Linked DNA regions of Homo sapiens: region 2 is linked to region 1. Evidence: promoter capture Hi-C in 16 types of primary human blood cells and fetal thymus (Javierre and others, 2016). All regions are on one chromosome and are shown on one strand. Each heading gives the region's core, a stretch centred on a gene start or on the middle of the fragment in contact. The rest is flanking DNA. Distances are from core to core; before and after follow the strand shown.

Evidence for each region. Contacts are between HindIII fragments. The CHiCAGO score rates a contact against its expected background, and 5 or more counts as called.
Region 2: a contact is called between a fragment that was not itself captured here and the fragment with the promoter of KLK2 in region 1, in 1 of 17 cell types (M2 macrophages). The highest score is 5.4, in M2 macrophages.

What each region holds. Positions count from the first base shown.
Region 1 is chr19:50,870,627-50,876,753 of GRCh38, forward strand. It overlaps KLK2 (kallikrein related peptidase 2), which reads left to right and starts at 2,813. Exons shown (of 5, transcript NM_005551.5): 1 at 2,813-2,893; 2 at 4,095-4,254; 3 at 5,846-6,127. The coding sequence starts at 2,848. RefSeq lists promoters at 1-2,838, 2,213-2,838, 2,485-2,838, enhancers at 1-161, 2,637-2,651 and a cis regulatory region at 2,637-2,651. The HindIII fragment of the contact is 10,018 bases long and covers 1-6,127 here.
Region 2 is chr19:51,053,655-51,060,413 of GRCh38, forward strand. It overlaps KLK13 (kallikrein related peptidase 13), which reads right to left. Exons shown (of 5, transcript NM_015596.3): 3 at 6,171-6,439; 4 at 4,884-5,020; 5 at 1,972-3,121. The coding sequence ends at 2,933. Among named protein-coding and RNA genes, the nearest start is that of KLK13, 8.1 kb to the right of the region's middle. The HindIII fragment of the contact is 5,539 bases long and covers 1-4,805 here.

The DNA of each region.
Region 1 (6,127 bases), core at 1,563-4,062:
CCGTCACGTCCCAACCATGGAGCTGTGGACGTGCGTCCCCTGGTGGATGTGGCCTGCGTGGTGCCAGGCCGGGGCCTGGTGTCCGATAAAGATCCTAGAACCACAGGAAACCAGGACTGAAAGGTGCTAGAGAATGGCCATATGTCGCTGTCCATGAAATCTCAAGGACTTCTGGGTGGAGGGCACAGGAGCCTGAACTTACGGGTTTGCCCCACTCCACTGTCCTCCCAAGTGAGTCTCCCAGATACGAGGCACTGTGCCAGCATCAGCTTCATCTGTACCACATCTTGTAACAGGGACTACCCAGGGCCCTGATGAACACCATGGTGTGTGCAGGAAGAGCGGGTGAAGGCACGGACTCCTGTGTGGTCAGAGCCCAGAGGGGGCCATGACGGGTGGGGAGGAGGCTGTGGACTGGCTCGAGAAGTGGGATGTGGTTGTGTTTGATCTCCTTTGGCCAGATAAAGTGCTGGATATAGCATTGAAAACGGAGTATGAAGACCAGTTAGAATGGAGGGTCAGGTTGGAGTTGAGTTACAGATGGGGTAAAATTCTGCTTCGGATGAGTTTGGGGATTGGCAATTTAAAGGTGGTTTGGGATGGCATGGCTTTGGGATGGAAATAGGTTTGTTTTTATGTTGGCTGGGAAGGGTGTGGGGATTGAATTGGGGATGAAGTAGGTTTAGTTTTGGAGATAGAATACATGGAGCTGGCTATTGCATGCGAGGATGTGCATTAGTTTGGTTTGATCTTTAAATGAAGGAGGCTATTAGGGTTGTCTTGAATTAGATTAAGTTGTGTTGGGTTGATGGGTTGGGCTTGTGGGTGATGTGGTTGGATTGGGCTGTGTTAAATTGGTTTGGGTCAGGTTTTGGTTGAGGTTATCATGGGGATGAGGATATGCTTGGGACACTGGATTCAGGTGGTTCTCATTCAAGCTGAGGCAAATTTCCTTTCAGACGGTCATTCCAGGGAACGAGTGGTTGTGTGGGGGAAATCAGGCCACTGGCTGTGAATATCCCTCTATCCTGGTCTTGAATTGTGATTATCTATGTCCACTTCTGTCTCCTTCACTGTACTTGGAATTGATCTGGTCATTCAGCTGGAAATGGGGGAAGATTTTGTCAAATTCTTGAGACACAGCTGGGTCTGGATCAGCGTAAGCTGCTCTGGTTTTATTGAACAGATGAAATCACATTTTTTTTTTCAAAATCAAAGAAATCTTATAGAGTTAACAGTGGACTCTTATAATAAGAGTTAACACCAGGACTCTTATTCTTGATTCTTTTCTGAGACACCAAAATGAGATTTCTCAATGCCACCCTAATTCTTTTTTTTTTTTTTTTTTTTTTTGAGACACAGTCTGGGTCTTTTGCTCTGTCACTCAGGCTGGAGCGCAGTGGTGTGATCATAGCTCACTGAACCCTTGACCTCCTGGACTTAAGGGATCCTCCTGCTTCAGCCTCCTGAGTAGATGGGGCTACAGGTGCTTGCCACCACACCTGGCTAATTAAATTTTTTTTTTTTTTTTGTAGAGAAAGGGTCTCACTTTGTTGCCCTGGCTGATCTTGAACTTCTGACTTCAAGTGATTCTTCAGCCTTGGACTCCCAAAGCACTGGGATTGCTGGCATGAGCCACTCACCGTGCCTGGCTTGCAGCTTAATCTTGGAGTGTATAAACCTGGCTCCTGATAGCTAGACATTTCAGTGAGAAGGAGGCATTGGATTTTGCATGAGGACAATTCTGACCTAGGAGGGCAGGTCAACAGGAATCCCCGCTGTACCTGTACGTTGTACAGGCATGGAGAATGAGGAGTGAGGAGCCACCGGAACCCCATATTGTTTAGTGGACATTGGATTTTGAAATAATAGGGAACTTGGTCTGGGAGAGTCATATTTCTGGATTGGACAATATGTGGTATCACAAGGTTTTATGATGAGGGAGAAATGTATGTGGGGAACCATTTTCTGAGTGTGGAAGTGCAAGAATCAGAGAGTACTGAATGCCAACGCTTCTATTTCAGGAACATGGTAAGTTGGAGGTCCAGCTTCTGGGCTCAGACGGGTATAGGGACCAGGAAGTCTCACAATCCGATCATTCTGATATTTCAGGGCATATTAGGTTTGGGGTGCAAAGGAAGTACTTGGGACTTAGGCACATGAGACTTTGTATTGAAAATCAATGATTGGGGCTGGCCGTGGTGGCTCACGCCTGTAATCTCATCACTTTGGGAGACCGAAGTGGGAGGATGGCTTGAGCCCAGGAGTTGGAGACCAGCCTAGGCAACATAGCCAGACCCTCTCTCTACAAAAAAATTAAAAATTAGCTGGATGTGGTGGTGCATGCTTGTGGTCTCAGCTATCCTGGAGGCTGAGACAGGAGAATCGGTTGAGTCTGGGAGTTCAAGGCTACAGGGAGCTGCGATCACGCCGCTGCACTCCAGCCTGGGAAACAGAGTGAGACTGTCTCAGAATTTTTTTAAAAAAGAATCAGTGATCATCCCAACCCCTGTTGCTGTTCATCCTGAGCCTGCCTTCTCTGGCTTTGTTCCCTAGATCACATCTCCATGATCCATAGGCCCTGCCCAATCTGACCTCACACCGTGGGAATGCCTCCAGACTGATCTAGTATGTGTGGAACAGCAAGTGCTGGCTCTCCCTCCCCTTCCACAGCTCTGGGTGTGGGAGGGGGTTGTCCAGCCTCCAGCAGCATGGGGAGGGCCTTGGTCAGCATCTAGGTGCCAACAGGGCAAGGGCGGGGTCCTGGAGAATGAAGGCTTTATAGGGCTCCTCAGGGAGGCCCCCCAGCCCCAAACTCACCACCTGGCCGTGGACACCTGTGTCAGCATGTGGGACCTGGTTCTCTCCATCGCCTTGTCTGTGGGGTGCACTGGTGAGATTGGGGGGATAAAGGAAGGGGGGCGGGTTCTGACTCTTATGCTGAAGCCCTTTTCCTCCCACCCAGTGCCCCAGCCTCGTCCCTTCAGCCCACAGTTCAGCCCAGACAATGTGCCCCTGACTCTTCCACATTGCAATAGTCCTCATGCCCACACTAGGTCCCCGCTCCCTCCCACTTACCTCAGACCTTTCTCTCCATTGCCCAGCCAAATCCCTGCTCCCAGCTGCTTTACTAAAGAGCAAGTTCCTGGGCATCTCTGTGTTTCTCTTTATGGGGTTCAAAACCTTTCAAGGACCTCTCTCCATGCCACTGGTTCCTTGGACCCTATCACTGGGCTGCCTCCTGAGCCCCTCAGTCCTACCACAGTCTACTGACTTTTCCTATTCAGCTGTGAGCATTCAACCCTGTCCCCTGGACCTTGACACCTGGCTCCCCAACCCTGTCCCAGGAAACCCAGATTCCACCAGACACTTCCTTCTTCCCCCCGAGGCTATCTGGCCTGAGACAACAAATGCTGCCTCCCACCCTGAGTCTGGCACTGGGACTTTCAGAACTCCTCCTTCCCTGACTCTTTGCCCCAGACCCGTCATTCAATGGCTAGCTTTTTCCATGGGAAAAACACGAGCACCCCCAACCACAACGGCCAGTTCTCTGATTCCCTAAATCCGCACCCTTTTCAAAACCTCAAAAACAAAACAAAACAAAACAAAGCAAGAAACAACTCAGGCAGAACTGTTTGCTTAACCTTGGACATGGTAAACCATCCAAAACCTTCCTCTCCCAGCAACTAAACCTCTCCACTGGGCACTTATCCTTGGTTTCTGGAACCTCTTATTCTCTTAGAACCCACAGCTGCCACCACAGTGTCCCTTCTCCCAGTGTAAGACCCCAAATCACTCCAAATGACCCAACCCCCAACCCGATGCCTGCTTCAGATGTTTCCCATGTCCCCTACTCTGATCTCTGGGGTCAGCTCCGTTCTCAGAGCATGAAGCCTCCCGACCTGGTCCAGCCACCAACCCGCTAACGCAGGGAATAGCTACAGAATTGCCAGCCCTCCCAGGACCCCTTGCTTGTGTCCTGGACTCCCAGTCCTGGTCCTCTGCCCCCATGTCTCTTCAAACCCACAGCTCAGCTCCCTCCCCTATCCAATTCTTTTGGGTCTGATCCCCCTGACCCAGCACCCCCTCCGCAGGTGCCGTGCCCCTCATCCAGTCTCGGATTGTGGGAGGCTGGGAGTGTGAGAAGCATTCCCAACCCTGGCAGGTGGCTGTGTACAGTCATGGATGGGCACACTGTGGGGGTGTCCTGGTGCACCCCCAGTGGGTGCTCACAGCTGCCCATTGCCTAAAGAAGTAAGTAGGACCCTGGGATCTGGGGAGGGAATGGCTGTGTCCCACAGGAATAACAGCGGGATGCTTCCCCCAGGGTCACTTCTCAGGTGAGGCTTCAGACTAAAGGAGAGAGGGAAGGTCCTGGCCCAGGTCGCACCCGGAGGCAGAGCTGGGGCTGGACCACTCTCCCCATGGCTGCCTGGGTTTCTCTCTGTGTCTGATCTCGCTGTGTCTCTTGGTATCTGGCTCTGGTTGTGTCTGTATGACTGTGTTTTGGTCTCTATGTCCCTCTCTCTTTTCTGTCTCCCTGTGTCTGTGTCTCCCCCGTCTCTGTCTCTGGGTCTCTCTGTGGCCATCTCTGTCACCGTGTGTCTCACCCTGCATCTCTTTGCCTGTCTTTCTCTCTGGGTCTCTGCCTCAGCCCTTCCTCATCACTACTGAACACACCCCGTGAGGGTGGGTGGGGAGCACCCAGAAAAAGGAAGGACTTTAAGCTCAATGTGTGTGCATGTGAGGGGGTGCCTGTCATTGCACAGCACTCTCTGCAGGACATCCCTCCACCCTGGGGAGACACAGGGAGGGCTGGTTTCAGCTGTAGCTGGGTGCACAATTGAGGAGGGAGGAAGGAGAAGGGGAAACAAGAAAGGAGGGGAAGGTGGCCGGGCACGGTGGCCCACGCCTGTAATCCCAGCACTTTGGGAGGCCGAGGTGGGTGGATCATCTGAGGTCAGGAGTTTGAAACCAGCCTGGCCAACATGGCAAAACCCCGTCTCTACTAAAAATACAAAAAGTAGCCAGGCGTGGTGCTGCGCGCCTGTAATCCCAATTACTAGGGAGGCTGAGGCAGGAGAATCGCTTGAACCCGGGAGGGAGAGGTTGCAGTGAGCCGAGATCGTGCCACTGCACTCCAGCCTGGGTGACAGAGCAAGACTCCATCTCAGAAAAAACAAACAAACAAACAAACAACAAAAAAAATCGAAAGGAGGGGAAGGGAGCTGGAGAGAGAAAGGGGGACGTGGCCCTGAGCTGTGGGCCGGGCCACCCGCCACTACAGAGCCCTCACTCCAGCCCCAGCTGCAGGTGAGCCACCCTCATGCCTCTCCTCCTCCCCCTGCTACTCCACACTCCTCAGATGCCCCCGTGGCCTCCCTCCTTTTTCTCTCCCACACTGTATCACCCCTGGCTTCCTCTCTGCTGTTTCTCCTTCTCTCTCTGACTTCCCGCATCCTTTTCTCATTTGTCTATTTCTCACTCCCTTCCTGGTTCTGTTCTTTCTCCCTTCCTCTTCCCCATGTCTATTTCTTGCTGTCTCTGTCTCTTCTTTGCTCATCCTAATTCTCACTGTTCTCCCTTCTGTTTTTGTCATTCCTCTGCCATTTTATGCTCTCTCTTTTCCACTTCGTTTCTTTCAGTTTCTGTCTCTGCCTCTCACATGATCACACTCCTGTTTTCTAACTCACTGTCTGTATTTCACCACGACTATATCTCCCCGACCCCTGTGCTTTTCTCACTGTTTCTTTTTCTTCCCTTTGGAGTCTCCCTTATCCTCCCCTGCCCCATCTACCTTTCCCCATTTTCTCTCTCCTCATGCATCCACCCCCTTCCTCCCCAGGAATAGCCAGGTCTGGCTGGGTCGGCACAACCTGTTTGAGCCTGAAGACACAGGCCAGAGGGTCCCTGTCAGCCACAGCTTCCCACACCCGCTCTACAATATGAGCCTTCTGAAGCATCAAAGCCTTAGACCAGATGAAGACTCCAGCCATGACCTCATGCTGCTCCGCCTGTCAGAGCCTGCCAAGATCACAGATGTTGTGAAGGTCCTGGGCCTGCCCACCCAGGAGCCAGCACTGGGGACCACCTGCTACGCCTCAGGCTGGGGCAGCATCGAACCAGA
Region 2 (6,759 bases), core at 786-3,285, 180 kb after region 1:
CGAGAAGCCCTTCTTGATCACCCTATTCAAAACAGCCTCCTCCTTTATTCTCTAACACAAATCCTTGCTTATATCCTTCATGGAAATGATTGCATTTGTTATTATCATCACACAGAAATCATCACAATCTGCAGTTATTTAGTTTGTGTAGTTGTTTCTTTTCTTTCTTTTTGAGACAGGGTTTCAGTTTGTCACCCAGGCTAGAATGCAGTGGCGCAATCTTGGCTCACTGCAGCCTCCGCCTCCCGGGTTCAAGTGATTCTCCTGCTTCAGCCTCTGAGTAGCTGGGATTACAGGCGCCTGCCACCACCAGCTAATTTTTGTATTTTTAGTAGAGACGGGGTTTCACCATGTTGGCCAGGCTGGTGTTGACTCCTGACCCCAAGTGATCCGCCCGCCTCAGCTTCCCAAAGTGCTGGGACTACAGGTGTGAGCCTCCATGCCTGGCCATAGTTGTTTATTTTCTATAAATTCTCAGAGAACAGTTTATTTCCACTTGAGTGTCTAATAAACAGTTCAAGACAAAATTTCCTCATCTCTGCCCTAAAACATGTTCCTCTCAGTTTCTCGCATTTTTGTAAATGAAAGCTCCATCCTTCCTGTTGCTCAGGCCAAATTGCTGGAGTCATCTTCGACTCTTCTCTTTTTCTCACATTCCCCCATCTGATGTTGGCAGATATGGTCCAACAGTCCCATCAAACAGATCCAGAATCTGACCTCTCGCCTCCTCTACGGCCATCACCTTGGTCCAGGAACCGTCACCTTTTGCCTGGGCTAATGCAGTCCCTTCCTCGCTGGGCCCCCTGAGTCTGTTCCCCATGGAGTAGCCAGAGGAATCCTGCGCACATTGAAATCAGTTCAAGTCCCTCCTCTGCTCAGAGCCCTCTCATAGCTCCTGGCTCCCTCAGAGGAAAACAAAGTCCTCGTCGTGCCCCACAGGACCCAATGCAGTCTGCTCCGTTCATTCTCTGCCCTCACCTCCCACCCTCTCCTCCTTGCTCACTCAGCTCCAGCCACACCAACCTTTTCACTGATCTTCAGACACACCAAACAGGCTCCTGCCTCAGGGCCTTTGCACTAGCTGTATCCCCTGCTCCAGCAGCTGCTCCTCAGATATGTGCTTTGCTCCTTCCCTTCATCCTTTCGGTCTTTCTTTAAATGTTACCATCTCAGTTAGGTCCTCTTCCCTGACCATGCTGTTTAAATTGCAATGCCACCCCTTCCACATATACAACCCTACATTCCCAATTCTTAATCCTTTCTTCTACCTCTTCCTCTTCCTCTTGCTCTCCTTCCCCTTCCCCTTCCCCTTCTCCTTCTCCTTCTTCTTCACAGGGTCTTGCTCTGTCACCCAGGCTTGAGTGTACTGGCACAATCACAGCTCACTGCAGCCTCAAACTCCTGGGCTCATGCAATCATCCTGCCTCAGCCTTCTGATTAGCTGGGACTACAGACTTGTGCCACCATGTCCAGCTAATTTTTTAAACTTTTTTGTAGAGATGGGATCTTGCTATGTTGTCCAGGCTGGTCTTGAACTCCTGGTGTCAAGCGATCCTCCCACCTTGGCCTCCCAGTGTTGGTATTACAGGCATGAGCTACCACATATGGCCCTTGTTTCATTTCTTGCTATGGCTTGCAGCACCACCTGACAGCCTATTTCTTTATTCATTGTTATGGAGACTTCTTGAAAAGAATGTAAGTTCTACAAGGGCAGAAGTTTTTATCTGTTTAACTCATTGGTTATCACTTGTCTCTGCAACAGTGCCTGGCTCTTGATAGGTACAAATATTTGTTGAGTAAATAAACTATATTTAACAACACCCAGGAGAGTGCTTGCACATAGTCAACACTGAAGAAATGTCTCCTGAGGAAAATAAATCAGTGCAACACTTTTTTTGGACACTCTGCAAATTCGAAGGGCTGTTATTAACATTCTAAGGTAATATTTTATGGGAACCATGCAAATAATAATAGTGATAAATGCTTGACATTTATTCTTGTAATAATGTTACAATTAAAAAAAATTATGAACCCATTTTACAGATGAGAAAGCACAGAGACTGTGAGTTTTATAACTTGTCCAAAGCAAGGATTTGCACTACATTTTAGGGTCATGCACAAAGATGTAACAGCAAGGGACACTGACCAAGGATGTTCATGGAGGGGATACAAGACGGAATATTTGGTAGACAATAAAGTTCAGGCAAGAAGACCCTTTGGTATACTGAACCCTATAACTCTAGAGACTAGGGTGCCATTGATTCAGAGAGGGAATGTTGGCAGAGGTGGGGTATTGGAAGAATGTGGGATGTAGGTTGGGTTGGGACTTCTGAGACACCCATAACAGTGTGAGAATGAAATATTCTGAGGATCCAATGTTAGCTGTGGTGAGTCACAGAGGTACACAGAATGTTGTCAGGGCAGAAGATTGTGGGCATAAGAGAATATTTTCAGGATGAACTATCATGGGAGTCTAGAGCCTTCTTGAGTGCAAAAAATAGAAGGTCTAGGATACTGGCATTGAATAAATACTTGAAGAGTTAGAGGATGTTGTCAAGGATGGTCCATTTATAGGACATATATTGTTGAGATGGGCTGATGGAAATATTTAAGAATGTGCCACAGACAGAACGTTCAGGTGGTGATCTGGGCTCATAGAAGCCACACTGATGAAGTTGAGAGACCTGGGCCATTGTCTGGGTTGGGACATTCAGGTTGTTGAGATGTTTCAGGGATGCAACATCTGGGAGACTGCAAGCCTGGCAGTGCCTGAATGCTTCTGAAACATGGAATGTTAGCTGAGATTGAGCATTTTTCAGGACATGGATCACTGGTTCAAATGGAACACTGGGAATAAGGAGCAGAGAAGGGCTAAGCAGACCATGTGAGGAAGTCATGGTGACAGGATGGAAGCCGGTACATTTCTCAACTTTTATTGTGGGCCCTTCAACCATTTTTGCTGCTGGGTTTCATATTTTCGGATTGTTTCACGGATCCACAGGACGTATCTTGAGACACGGGTGTAGACACCAGGCCGGTCAGGTTGCCCACATGGGAAGTCTCCCCAGGAGACGATGCCATACAGTGTTCTGTTACAGACCAGGGGGCCCCCAGAGTCACCCTGAGTTGGGGAAAGAAAGAGAGAGAGAGGTGGGTCCTTGCTGGGGCTAAACAAGGCAGGGACAGGGAGGTGTGGGGAGAGAGTGAAAGATGGAGAGAGACACACACAGAGAAGGAGACTCAGAGAGGCAGAGTCAGACACACACAGTGTGAGAGAAAGCAATGAAGACAGTGAGAAACAGACAAGAAGACAAACACAGAGGGACAGACAGCAAGAGACAGAAATAGGGACAGAAAGACAGAGATAGGCCCAGAGAAAGAGAGACACAGAGAAATTTCTGTGTTTTTCTCTGTTCCTCAGTTTCATTAAAATGGTAACAACTTACTTCATACCCATTTTTGTTTCCCTGGTACTAAATCACCCCCTGCCCCACACCAGCTGACCCTGCTCCTATTTAAGGCTCATTTGTGTCTCTCACTATTGAGTGAACCCATTCATATCTGGGCAGGGTATGCAACACACGTGTAAGTCTATTTCTCTTCCTGGGCCCAAGGCAGACATCACTAATCGATCAAGGCACATATCATTAATATAGTATCATACTCTTTCTCACTGAATCCAATCTCAACTTCTTTATTGATGAAGGCTATTTTTTGCTCATGTAGTATCCATTTCCTCTTATTTTTAAAAAATTAAACATTCATTTTTAAATTTTTATTTATTTATTTATTAGAGACAGTGTCTTGCTCTATTTATTTCTTTTTGTTTTAGAGACAGGGCCTTGCTCTATCACCCAGGCTGGAGTGCAGTGGCATGATCATACCTCACTGCAGCCTTGAACTCCTGGGTTCAAATAGTCCTTCTGCCTCAGCCTCCCGAGTAACTAGGACTGCAGTTGTACTCCACCACACCTGGCTAATTTAAAAACTTTTTTTTCTTTTTGTAGAGACAGAGTCTCACTATGTTGCCCAGGCTGGTCTCAAACTCCTGGGCTCAAGTAATCCTCTCACCTCAGCCTCCCAAAGTGCTGGGATTACAGGCATGAACTACTGTACTTGGCCATTTCCCCTTATTTTGGTAACAGCCTCTCCTGATTTTTTCATTTGGGGAACTGCCCTTCTCCACTTCCAATCCATGCAGTTTGTCCCTGCCCCTCTCCAGCACCCACAGTTAACTATGTGACTCAGGCTTGGCCCATCAGAGAATCCCACAGCTCTGGTGGAGTGATGGCTCAAGACACATGACTTAGGTCAGCCTAGTGAGAATCATGCTTAAGACTTTTGTGTGAACTATTGGAAAAGAGAGGTTCTCTTTCTAATAGGGTTGCCTAGAGGGTAGGATGTAAGCTCAAAGCTGCTGGGGCCATCTTGTCATGGGAAGAATCTAACCGAGAATGAAGCCAAAACAGAATAAAGAAGAGCTGAGAGTTAAAAGAAAGACAGAATTCCAAACACACAATTTGCATACCTGGATCCATCTGTGCCTAAAGCCAGACAACCTGGATTTTCAGTTACAAAAGCCTGCATTTTGTTTAAGCCAGTTTGAGTTGGTTGTCTATCACTCACAAGTGAAAGAATACCAACCTTTATGCATCTCAACACAGGGATCTTGGCAGCCACTCAGTCAAAGCTGGGGCTTATGATGAATTATTCCTGCCATCCCTGGGTACCCCTTTTTGTCTTGACCTCCTATGTGAGGGGACATTGTATCTTATAAAGATTGGTTCCCCTAAGGCTGGAAACAAAGCTTTTTCCCCAGCATCTGTCACTTCCATTCTGGCTTTCTATCCTGTCCAAGGCACCCACCAGCCTCCCGGCCTCACCTCACAGGAGTCTTTGCCACCCTCTTTTGTGCCGGCACACAACATGTTGTCAGTGATCTTTCCTGGGTAGACTTGACGACACTCCTCATCTGAGCGAAGTTGGATGTTGGCACATTGTAGAGTTTTGGGGTAATTCACTGGGGAGAAGAAAGAGAAGGTCTAAGGTATCCGACCTGGATAGGATATGGGATGAAGGTGAAATAGGCGAGTTGAATGGGTAAAGAGTAGATAGAAAATTGAGATGGGAAGAGAAAGATGGGAGAAGAGATGAGCACCTATCTGGGTAAAGCAACGGAAGTGACAGAAATATGGAGGGACATGGGAGAGAGGCGAAGGGAGAGATGAGGAGAAAAGTGGAGGGAAGGACAAGGAGGGAAGGGACAAGAGAATGGAAGGTTGATAAGGAGAGTGGTGGAGCCAGCGGTGGGGAGAGAAAGTTGGAGAGAGGGAGTTGGAATAGGGAGATGGTCAGAAATAGAGAATTAAAGATGGGAAAAGCAGGAACAGGGATGGGAAGAGTTACGGGAGAGTTGGATAGAATGGTAGGAAGAGAGACAGGGCATGTTGAGGAGAAAGATACAAACATGAGGCTGGGAGAGAGTCAGGGATTGCTAGGGAGATGCAAAGGGCTCTTGTCGGTATATACATCAACTTTATATTCACATATATAATGTATTATACTTACTAAGTAATGATATAGAATTAATTATTACATTGAATTATTAGACATTTCATTAATAACCATATTTAATATATTAAACATTTTATAAATTATAGAAATATAAACATTTTATATGTATGATTTATATATTATAAATGATAAAATTCATTTACAGTATATAAATATATAAATGTATACATTTATAAAATACATTTATAATATATAATTTAAATATAGATTATATATAATATATACATTATGCAGAAATACATATTTAAAATACATAATTGATAAATTTTATAATTTATAAAATACATTTAATTTGTATACTTTTTGTATAATATATAATTATATTACTATATAATACATAATATACATCATATAATATATTCATATATTAGATCTATTTATATTTCTATATATTCATGAATTTATATACTCATATTTTTATATATTCATGAATTTATATTTATATAAAGGATACAGCTAACTTTAAATATATATATTTATTTACTTATTTATATTTTTATATATAAAGGAACCTACCTCAGACCTTCCCTCCCATCTCTGCCCCTGTTTCCCCAGCCACTCCTATGGGGCCTCAGGCCACCTGTGTGGGTGCATACCCTGGGGGCTGGTGGTGGTGCCCCAGCCAGACACCCGACAGGTGGTGCCAGGGGTTAGGCGGTTGTTGTGGGAAAGGGGCAGGGTTTGGATGTAGCCTGTGAGCTGGACCGGGGACTGCAGCTCCAGAAGCATGATGTCATGGTCGTGGTTCAGGTGGGTGGGGCTTCTCCGGTATTCAGGGTGGGGGATAGAGTGGACAACTTCCCTCACCTGCTCACCAGCTTCCACACGCCCTAGGGCGTGCTTGCCTAGGTAAACTTTGAGCCCCCTGTGGGTGCAGAAAGAAGGTGGTTAGGAAAGAAGATGAGCCCATTTCCATCCCCATCCCAGCCCCAACCTCTTCCCATCCCCAACCTAACTTCTTCTCCATCCTACCTTCCTCATCTCCAAATACATCTCCCCCATCCTCAACTTCAATCCCATCCAAATCCCCTACTTTGATTCTATTCCCATACCCAATCCCCATATCTCAACCCCAAACCTCATTCTCACTCCCATGTCCATCCCCAACCCTAACTCCAACTCCATCCTCAAATCCAACTCTACCCCATCCACAATCCCAGTCCCATTCTCATCCCTACCCCATGC